Regions from separate parts of the Homo sapiens genome. Here all the other regions are linked to region 3. The links are contacts of gene promoters, found by promoter capture Hi-C in human tissues and cell types (Jung and others, 2019). All regions are on one chromosome and are shown on one strand. The core of a region is centred on a gene start or on the middle of the fragment in contact, and the rest is flanking DNA. Distances in the headings are between cores, read along the strand shown.

What was found. Contacts are between HindIII fragments. The study calls those that stand out against the background at their distance.
Region 1: a fragment that was not itself captured here is called in contact with the fragment with the promoter of DNTTIP2 in region 3 in 1 of the 25 tissues and cell types used here (H1 embryonic stem cells).
Region 2: a contact is called between a fragment that was not itself captured here and the fragment with the promoter of DNTTIP2 in region 3, in 3 of the 25 tissues and cell types used here (IMR-90 fibroblasts, aorta and hippocampus).
Region 4: a fragment that was not itself captured here is called in contact with the fragment with the promoter of DNTTIP2 in region 3 in 1 of the 25 tissues and cell types used here (mesendoderm cells).

What each region holds. Positions count from the first base shown.
Region 1 is chr1:93,467,990-93,470,689 of GRCh38, forward strand. All of the region lies in intron 1 of FNBP1L (formin binding protein 1 like), which reads left to right. Among named protein-coding and RNA genes, the nearest start is that of FNBP1L, 21 kb to the left of the region's middle. The HindIII fragment of the contact is 6,694 bases long and covers 1-2,700 here.
Region 2 is chr1:93,539,866-93,542,565 of GRCh38, forward strand. FNBP1L (formin binding protein 1 like) reads left to right here. Exons shown (of 17, transcript NM_001164473.3): 11 at 1,177-1,191. Among named protein-coding and RNA genes, the nearest start is that of TRC-GCA7-1, 25 kb to the left of the region's middle. The HindIII fragment of the contact is 5,357 bases long and covers 1-2,700 here.
Region 3 is chr1:93,877,839-93,880,538 of GRCh38, forward strand. It overlaps DNTTIP2 (deoxynucleotidyltransferase terminal interacting protein 2), which reads right to left and starts at 1,368. Exons shown (of 7, transcript NM_014597.5): 1 at 1,239-1,368; 2 at 1-24. The coding sequence starts at 1,310. RefSeq lists enhancers at 1,094-1,523, 1,375-2,190. The HindIII fragment of the contact is 10,129 bases long and covers 1-2,700 here.
Region 4 is chr1:93,573,315-93,576,014 of GRCh38, forward strand. BCAR3 (BCAR3 adaptor protein, NSP family member) reads right to left here. Exons shown (of 12, transcript NM_003567.4): 8 at 2,700. Among named protein-coding and RNA genes, the nearest start is that of BCAR3-AS1, 17 kb to the right of the region's middle. RefSeq lists an enhancer at 1-165. The HindIII fragment of the contact is 6,394 bases long and covers 1-2,700 here.

The DNA of each region.
Region 1 (2,700 bases), core at 182-2,681, 410 kb before region 3:
TTCCTTTGTGCTTGCCCTAGTCATCCCCTCTTCCCGTGTAACCACTGATCTTTTTACTGTGACTTTTCATTACCTCAGAAGGAAAGCTGTTGCCCATTAAGAGTCACTCCCTTCTTCTCCCTCTCCTCCAACCCCAGCCCTAGGAAACCACTAATCTTCCTGTCTCAACAGATTTACCTATTCTGGACATTTCATATAAATGGAATTATAGCATATGTGGTCATTGGTGACTGGCATGTTTCAGTTAGTTTAAATGTTTTCAAGGCTCATGCATACTGTAACATGCATTACTTTGTTCTTTTTTTTTTAACTGAATAATATTCCCTTGTATGCATATACCACATTTTATTCATCCATTCATCTGTTGATTGACTTTTAGGTGTTTTCTATTTTTGGCATGAATAATGCTGCTGTGTGCTGTGAACATTAACGGACAAATTTTTCTTTCTGTGTTTCTTGGAGACAGGGTCTCGCTCTGTCATCCAGGCTGGAGTGCAGTGGCACAGTCTTGGCTCACTGCAGCCTCGACTTCCTGGGTTCAAGCGATCCTCCCACCTCAGCACCCCATGTAGCTGGGACCACAGGCACGTGCCATGACGCCTGGCTAATTTTTATATTTTTGGTAGAGATGGGGTTTTGCCATGTTGCCCAGGCTGGTCTTAAACTCCTGGGCTCAAGCAGTCTGCCTGCCTCGGCCTCTCAAAGTGCTAGGATTACAGGTGTAAGCCACTACACCTGGCCCGATGGACAAGTTTTTGTGTGTATATATTTTTCTTTCTCTTGGGTATATACTTAACAGTAGAATTGTTGAGTCATATGGTAACTCTATTTTTAACCATTTTAGGAACTCCCAGACTATTTTGCATTTTATATTACCACCAGGAATGTGTGAGAGTCCTGATTTCTGTATATCCTTGCCAACGGTTGATATCATCTGAATTTTTGGTTATAGCCATCATAATTAGATATAAAGTAGTATCTTATTGTGGTTTTGATTTACATTTACTTGATGACAAATAATATTGAGCATCTTTTCTTGTGCTTATTGTTCATTTGTATATCTTTCCTAAAGAAATACCTGCTTACCTCAGTTAACTTTTTTTTTTATATTTATACTTTAAGTTCTAGGGTACATGTGCACAACATGCAGGTTTGTTACATAGGTATACATGTGCCATGTTGGTTTGCTGCACCCATCAACTTGTCATTTACATTAGATATTTCTCCTAACATTATTCCTCCCCTAACCCCCCACCCCCCAACAGGCCCCAGTGTGTGATGTTCCCCTCCCTGTGTCCATGTGTTCTCATTGTTCAACTCCTACTTATGAGTGAGAGCATGCAGTGTTTGGTTTTCTGTCCTTGCGATAGTTTGCTGAGAATGATGGTTTCCAGCTTCATCCATGTCTCTGCAAAGGACATGAACTCATCCTTTTTCATGGCTGCATAGTATATTCCATGGTGTATATGTGCCACATTATCTTTATCCAGTCTATTATTGATGGACATTTGGGTTGGTTTGAAGTCTTTGTTATTGTGAATAGTGCCGCAATAAACATACGTGTGCATGTGTCTTTATAGTAGCATGATTTATAATCCTTTGTTACCTTAGTTAACTTTTAAGTATGAATGTTCACCATAAATTTCTGTGGTAGTATGTACTAGTAAACTATAAATAAAAACTAATATTGATGGCAGTGGTACTGTTTAAGAAAAGGAAAAATTGCCAGGCAGGAACTCAGGAGGCTGAGGCGGGAGGATCACTTGAGGCCAGGAGTTTGAGATCAGCCTGGGCAATATAGCAAGATCTTGTCTCTAAGAAAATAAAAATAAAAAAATTAGCCTGACATGGTGGTGCACACTTGTCGTTCCAGCTACTTGGGATCACTTGAGCCTGGGAATTCAAGGTTACAGTGAGCTATGATCATGTCACTGCACCACTGCAGTCTGGGCAACAGAGTGAGACTCTGACTCTTAAAAGAAAAAAAGAAAAGGAAAAATGTAATTGTGGTGTTAAAGTACCATATTTGTCCTTGATATTCCTCCCTGAACTTGCCAGCCACTCTTTTATACTGAGATGTTTGGTTTTGGCATTAATTTAAGAAACTTAAAATCTAAGTGTGAATGTTAGCTATGCTCTCTTTTCTTTCTTTATTTTTTTTTGAGATGGGTCTAGCTCTGTTGCCCAGGCTGGAGTATAGTGATGCTGTCATAGCACAGTAACCTCAAACTCCTGGGCTCAAGTGAGCATCCTATCTTAGCCTCCAGAGTAGCTGGGACTACAGGTGTGTGCCACCAAGCCCAGCTAATTTTTTTGTGTGTGGATACAGGGTCTCTTTATGTTGCCCAAGCTGGTCTTAAACTCCTGGGCTCAAGCAGTCATTCTGCCTTGGCCTCCTAAAGTGCTGGGATTACAGGCATGAGCCATCACACTCAGCCTTGTCTGTTACTTTTTAAAAGAAACTTTTCCACTAATTGGCTCTCCAGTTGGCTTGCTTCTCTTGTCTCTGACTATGGATGGGAGTCTTTGTTGTTGTATAAGTAGAAAGCTTTCTTATGTTGTTAGATGTCAATAGTTTCAGATATGAAAGTCCAGGAAATGGGCCAGGCACGGTGGCTCAGACCTGTAATCCTAGCACTTTGGGAGGCCGAGGCGGGCGAATCACCTGAGGTCAGGAGTTCAAGATTAGCCTGGCCAACA
Region 2 (2,700 bases), core at 21-2,520, 340 kb before region 3:
GTAGATATTTTTGTCAGATTATTTATTAAAATTCATTCATATTTTTAATGTGAATTTTTTATCTGACATCTCCCCAACACCTTCTCTTAAAACATGTGATTTAGAAAATAGGGAAAAGTAAAAATTTTACAGGCAGCTCACTAATTGAGATGAATGTGAAGATTAACTTTATAAAGCTCCGTTGCATTTTCTGGGTCACCGTGTGTGTGTATGTGTGTGGGTGTGTAGTTGGGATGCTAGATAGATGCCATGCCAGTTGCAGAATCCTATTGACCCACAGAATGTGGGAGATATATCCAAATCCATATACATATCTATATCTGTACACACACACATATATATACATATATAAAGTATTGTTGTACAAGAGCACTATGGTTGGTCTCTTCAGAATCTGTGTCATTTCATATTTTCAGAAAGAATACATTTTAATCAATTTTCTAAAAATTGAAGTTATGTTTTTAGTGTTGTTCAAGCATATGGATTTTAAAATAAAACCTGAAAAATGGAAGCTATATTTTTAAAGCAAAATTCAACCTATATACTTGTATATATTAGGAAATGTGTACGGGAAACTTGAATCTGGATAACTCACTATTTTGAAAATAATGTGTTTTAAATGTACATTTTAAAAGATTTTAAAATGAAAGTAAAAATGTTACCCTCATCTAACCATGGTATATTTAAATTCAAACAGTACTTTGAAGTATAAAAATGTAGGTAATAGTGTTTTCTTTAACACACTGGAAAGAACATTCTATTTTTTAATATTTCACATAAGATTTCTTTTTAAATGTTTAATCTTAGAGTTCATATTCAACTTTTCAAATATTAGTAATTTGAGAATAAAGAGCTATAGAAGTGAAATCCACTTACATAAAATTCACTTTAAAAGAAAATGCATGATTACAGGTAGAATGTTTATTTTTAAGTTTTAGTTAAACATAGAAAATATCTGCCCATTATCATCAATGTATGCTTTTTTTTTTTTTTTTTGCAAGTAATTTACTTTCCCAAAATGTGCTTAAAATGGTTTTTCTGGCATAATTGTTTGGATTGTGAAATGTACGTGATTTATTTTAGTATTGTGAAAAAGAATAGGCTATTGCATCTTCTGTATTATGGTTTCCTGTGAATAATTTACCATTTCTTTCTGTTTTCCATTGAACTATTCAGTGGTCGGTGAAGATGGTAAGCCTTATGTGCTGATCTATATACTGTGCCAACATTAAGTAATCTCAAAACATTGTTTTGTTTAATTCAAAACAAGTGGTAAATTACATCCCACGTTTTCACCTTGTGTGTTTTTTCTTTTTATAGTTTCATAGTCCAGCATATGCCAGTACTCTTGATGTCATAAGATTAGAAAATGTGGTTAATTGTCATCAACCCATTAAGTTCTTAAATGTCATTGAATGGAGTCCTTGTCATGTTACAGAGGAGCGTAAAATTGTGGTTAAACATTTTTTAAAGATTACATGGTAGAGCCACAGTTTGTTATGCAGAAGGAAAATTTAGCAAATATTATTTTGCTTAATAGCCTTTAAAAAATCGTATAAATTTGATTTGTAGTTTTATCCCCAGAGTCATTAGATTTTTCCAAAAAAAGAAAGAAAAATTTCAAACTAGTATCATTATGGAGTTAGTCCTTGGTTCTTCTGTGCTATTGAAGGAGAATAGAAACACAAATGATCTAAATATCCTGTGTGTGTTTGTGTGGGGGGTGGGGCGGGGCGGGGAAGGTGTGTGTGTGTTTGGGATGTTCCTTGGTATGTTTATTTCAAACAAATTAATGGATCTACATTAGGAACTAACCCCAAAATTATTGTATAGGAAGCTACTGGAAAATAGACCACTCTTTTTTACATTGTTGGAATCAGCCTTTTATAAATTCCTTTGTAGTAAGAGAGGTTGTTAAATGCCCCAGAGGTCTTCTGAACATCCATAGGAAATAAAGTTAAGTTTAATTCTCATATTCTATGTAAGAATAGAGTTCCAATGTCAAATGGGATATTAGAAATGTAAGTGCCTCAGTGTTTACTGTTCATAAATTTGAGAACAGGGTTTGATAAGGGATAAGTGGAATTCTGGCAGATTTACTTGTAGGTTATTGTGAGTTTATCATAATTTTGACAACAAAAAAAAACTCCACAGTATGTTGAAATGCATTTCTTCATTTTATTCAATAATTTTTCAAGATTTTTAGAAATATTTTTAAAAATCTAAATTAAGAAGTTTATTTTTGGCATATATATATACTAGTTTTCAAAACTTGTACTCCTTTTCTGTAATCCCAGCTATTTGGGAGGCTAAGGCGGGAGGATTGGTTGAGCCCAGGAGTTCGAGGCTATAGTGAGCCATGAGAGCTATGATCACTCAACTGCATTCCATTGTGGGCAACAGAATGAGACCCTATCTCTACAAAAAACCTTCAACTCCAAAGTAGATTAAATATGACAAATTTATGTTGCAAATTAACCAGTAAATCTAAAGGAACTCAACAAAGGAAATTTCACCATTGATTTATTTAGGCCAGATTGGGTTGATTGATATCCTTGTTTCTGGTGATTGGTAAATGAAAAAAAAAAAAAAAAAAAAAAAGCAACACTTAGGATGCCCTACTTTTTTCTAGCAAGCTTGTTGAATATCCATAATCTACAGGCCACTGGGGAAAGAGGCTAGGGATTCTGTTATTAATTA
Region 3 (2,700 bases), core at 118-2,617:
TTGAATCCCATTAGCAGCAAAACTCTGCAAACCAGAGAAAACACACTGTAATTTAGGTAGGGCTGGAACAAGGGCAAAGCAAATGAAATACTGACCCCAAAAGCTAAAACCCAGTAAACAAGATTACCTTTAAAACAAAAAACAAAAAAACCTGCCCAACTCATGATTTTTAAAAAATCAAAATTTGGCCGGGCGCGGTGGCTTACGGCTGTAATCCCAGCACTCTGGGAGGCCGAGGCAGGTGGATCACGAGGTCAGGAGTTCGAGACAGCTTGGCCAACATAGTGAAACCCCATCTCTACTCAAAGTAAAAAAATTAGCGGGGCGTGTTGGTGCGCACCTGTAATCCCAACTACTCAGGAGCCTGAGGCAGAAGAATTGTTGGAATCCGGGAGGCAGAAGTTGCAGTGAGCCGAGGCTGCGCCACTGCACTCTAGCCTGGGCGACAGAGCAAGACTCCGAATCAAAAACAAACAAACAAAAAAATCAAAATTTAAACACTGGAGCCAACCCTGCATTTACTTCACTAGCCTCATCCTTCCTAGATGTAACTTCAGAAGCAGAACGATTAAAATTTTTCTGTTTAAAGTCAAATATAATGGGTAGACCAACATTCTGACCCACCTATAGAAGAGGGGAGAAAGGGAATATTAACTCTGAACACCGATGTGTTTAGGAACACACTGATGGAATCAGTCGCCGCCCTTACCTTTACGTACAGGAAAAAATCGCCGCCGCTCCGTTCCCTGCATCGCTGAGTCAGAATGAGACAGCCGACTAACGCCACTAAGAGTCACCAGGCGACGACACCACAGCCCTCCTCACGCCTTAAGGAGGTGATGCTGGACAGCTGCCAGCCTCCCCACGTGAAAACGAAGCTTTTTTTCCAGCCCCCCTAAATGGGGCTTGTGCATGGTGGCCGAAATTAACCCTCCTTGGTACCGTGTTAACAGTAAGGTTTAAAAGTTCGAACTGTGCTTCTGCATTAAGGAGTTGAACGACCCAAATAAAGTTATCTAACCTCTCTTCCATACTAAAAATTGCCTTAAGAGACAGTGGTGAAGGCTAAACAGTTTCCGTGACAGGCTTAGCACGGGGCCTGGGAGACCCAAGCGCGCGGCAAGCTCGGGTCCTCTCTGTCGGCAGGTCCTCACCCTTAACCGGACCCTTGCGCCGCCCCGCCTGCCTGAGCGCGGCTCTGCGAAGCGGCGAGAAGTAGGGAAGACTGGATTTCCTACCTTTTGCCCGGAACTTTCAGCCGACGCGGCTTGGATGCTGGCCTTAGCCCGTGCAGATCTGGTAACCACCATCTTTCCGGCTCCCTCGCGACCACCACGACTTCCCTCTTCCCTGGCGCTCCGGAAATGCGTCAGAGAACTGCCTCGAGCGCGTTTTCCGCGCAGATCCGAGAATTCGCGAGAATCTCCGCCCAGCCAGTTCAGGCCAGGGCGGTCAGAGACAAAGGGCCTGGGTTTAAGTGTGCATTTCAGAGCTGTAGAAGGCAAGCCAGATTTTTGCTGGGAAAGACCTTCATCGGGGCGGCGAAGCCCGCAGTGACAGAGGGTCTTAGCGTACCCGTTCACATGAATTGTAAAAACGCACTTACATGCCATTCGTTCTTTCATTTGTTTAGTAGAATCGTTTGAACCCGGGAGGCGTTCTTTCATTTCTACGTTCTAAAGAGCTTAATGTAGCCATTGGTATGTCCAAGGGAGAAGTTTGAGATATTTGTGCTTTTTAAAGAAAGACAATATTTACTCGTGTATTGTGACGCTAACTATAAATAAAATTTAAGGACTTGGTTGGGGTAAAAGGGATATAAGGTGCTCGCAGGAACTGGGAGACGAAGTGGAAAGCTGTATAATCTAAACGTGAGATGGTGTTTAGGGATTGGGAATAGCAGAAAAGAAAAAAACGTTAAAGAAATTGTAAAGGAGAAGAATAAGGTTTTGTTGTTGTTGTTGTTGTTGTTATTGTCACAGTGAAAGGAAGAGTATGACCAGAATCAAGAGGTTTCTTTGGTTATCTTTTGAGATAAAAGGTAGAGAACTATGTTTGAGGGGATGGGAAGGGGTTGAAAAAATAAGTAAACGCAAATTATTGTTGGAGGTGAGAAAGGATGAATGAGTGCCTCACCAAACCTAGTCTCTACTTCATGACAGAAAACCAATTTTTTATTTAAAGTCACAGAACACTGTGTCGATGGACACACTGCTTCCCAGCTTAAAATAGCTTATTTTATAGTCTCTCTTGCAGCCAAATGTGGCTATGTGACTACGTTTTAGCCAATTAGGTATAAATTGTGTGCATGTCTTTAGGGACGGCATCTAAAAGAGAGGAGGCCGTCCCTGACTTTTTTTTTTGGAGACGGAGTCTTGCTCTGTCGCCCAGGGTGGAGTGCAATGGCGCAATCTTGGGTCACTGCAACCTCCGCCTCCCGGGTTCAAGCGATTCTCCTGCTTCAGCCTCCTGAGTAGCTGAGATTACAGGCGCCCGCCACCATTCCTGGCTAATTTTTTTTTTGTATTTTTAGTAGAGACGGGGTTTCACCATGTTGGGCAGGCTGGTCTTGAACTCCTGCCTTCAGGTGATTCACCCGCCTCGGCCTCTCAAAGTGCTGGGATTACAGTGCTGGGATTATAGGCCTAAACGACCTCGCCCAGCCCTCCTGATCTTTTAAAGTGCATTTTACTTCCTGGA
Region 4 (2,700 bases), core at 196-2,695, 300 kb before region 3:
TGAACCCAGGAGGCAGAGGTTGTAGTGAGCAGATTGCGCCACTGCACTCCAGCCTGGGTAACTAGAGAGACTATCTCAAAACAAAAATAATAATAATAATTAAAGTGCCTGGCACTGGCGGGCACCTAATAAATAGCAGTTGTTACTAGAGTTGTCTCTGTACATGTCTCTCCCTGTGTATCTTGGTCCATTTTCCCTCTTTGTCTCCATCTCTTTCCTCTTTTCTCCATTTATCTCCTTCTCCTGATTTGTCTTTCTCAATTAATGAATCCAAACATAGACCTAAAATATATTTTTATTATTATTATTATTATTATTATTTTTTTTTTTTTGAGACAGGGTTTTGCTCTGTTGCCCAGGCTGGAGTGCAGTGGTGTGATCATGGCTCACTGCAGCCTTGACCTCCCTGGCTCAAAGGATCCTCCTGCCTCAGCCTCCCACGTAGCTGGGACCACAGGCATATGCCACCATGCCCAGCTAATTTTCGTGTTTTTTTGTAGAAACAGGGTTTTGCCATGTTGCCCAGCTGGTCTCGAATTCCTGGGCTCAAGTGATCCACCTGCCTTGGCCTCCCAAAGTGCTGGGATTACAGGCATGAGCCACCACGCCCAGCTGTTATCTGATACATTTTTGGAAGAGTTTTCTTATCCATTTGCAAAATGTTAACATTGACAGAACATTTTAGATGTTGCTTTTAACTATAAACTCACTTCCCATGCTGCATTCAATTGATTCTTTATTCAGTGTTTTCTCTCCCTGTGTTTTAATGGCCCTCTAGTGTTGTATAAATGGTTAACTGAATGGTTATATCCATTCACTCAACCAATATTTGCCTGAAACCTCCTGGATACACCGACTATGGGAAAAACAACTCAGGCTGGCAAATCTGCAGCAAAAGCTCCTGTGGTTGGCAAGAGGAGGCACTCAGATGTCACATGAAGGACACTTCCAGAGCAGTATGCCTGGAATGGGTGAGGTGGTAAATTAAAAATAAAGGGTGGTTTTGTATTTGATTCTCAAATGCAAGAAGGTGATATCATGTGACACATCAGGACCTCTATAACCTTGGCCTTTATTTAATAAACACATTGTAATTAATAAAACTACTCCCCAGGCTCTAAAAAGAAGATCCCACAGGTCACAAGAAACAAGCTAAGGAGCAAGACCCCAGCCAAGAGGCAGTCAGGAGAAAAGACAAATGAAGTGGAAAGTCAGAAAACAGCCAAGAGAGAAGCCCCAAACCTGTCACCCTCAGCCTGTCCCAGCACACTGAATGATACTAAGAAAATAGGGCTCAGATTCATGAGGCCTGGAACCTGCGGCCTTTCAGGCTGAAATGTCTCATGGGAGAAATGGCAAAGTGTGGTGGCACAGCTCACCTCTGCTGATAGAACGAAGCTAGTGGAGCCGGGAGGTCAGGCCCCTAGGGCAGGAGGGAAAAAGGGGACACCCGGAGAGAGGCTGGAACCTAGAAAAGTCTCATCAGGAAGAGCAGGGAAATTCAGAAGCGGGACCTAGAATTCCCCAGAGGCTTAAGCAATGGGTATTCCCGAACAAAATCCGCATGGCCCACTTCTTCACCTCCATCCTCCCACATGGCTGCAATTCAGCATTCTGGGTATTTTCTATGGGATGTATCCACGGCTGCGAGGCCAAAACAGCAGCAGCATAGGAGTCATTTTATCTGCTGTACAGCCGAGGAAACTCTAAAGCAGCGACATCCATCCCCCGAGAAGTGGCTTTTTACCGTGAAAACAGCAAATTCTAATTATAAAAAGTCATCCTTCAATCACATCAGTCACATTTCAGGTGCCCGAGAGTGACATGTGGCTGGTGGCTACTGTAATAGCCAGTGCAGAATGCGTCTGTTACCACAGAAAGCTTTCCTGGACAGCACTGTGACCTGGAACTTCATGGAAAGCCATGGGCAGTCAGTAATGGCAACTAGGACATGGGCTGGACAGACAGAAAACTTAACAAGATAGTCTTGCCCAAATCAACTTTTAAAAAATGTGTCAAAAAGGCTGGCTTTGTGGTAATATGGATATCTAGTCTAGAGCTTCTTTTCTTAAAAACATACCTCATTGTTGGTGTCTTTCTAATTCCTAAACATTCCATTTCAATGGATGCCCAGGGCCCTGGCTTTTCATGAGAAGAGGGGAGGGATGCCTCGGAGGCCCCGGACCAGTGCCGTCATCCCCTAACCTCTGACCCTATTTGTCCACCCCTCAAAGAAAACACTGTCTAGACTCTGCTCTTCCCAGCCTTTCCCACAAACTCCTCCTAATTCCTCAAGCAATCTTAACCCCCAAAGAGACAAAGGGGCAGCTTGCTGGGCAGGAGACCCAGGAGACTCCAGGTGCTGGGGCCCCAGCTCTGCCCCAGGCTGCAGGATCTGTGACTCCTGCTCACACAGGCCAATTGAGTCACTGGCTTCAGGCCATCTATTCTCTCCATCCACTCCTCCAGGAGCAGGGACGGGAACACATTCTTTGTTCCTGAGTTGTGCTGTCTTTGTGTGCAACTCCAGGAATTCTCAGGCTCAGGCTTCTGGGAAGAGTCGCTGTAGGCCATGCGCCCTGAAGTACTGTTACCCCAGGGCTAGGCTGGTGCTGCGCCTCTCTTTGTTCTAAAACCTGCTGCTCTGATGCCTGGAAGGAGCTGGGAGGGTCGGAAGTGCAGAGGACGGCACTGCTCACC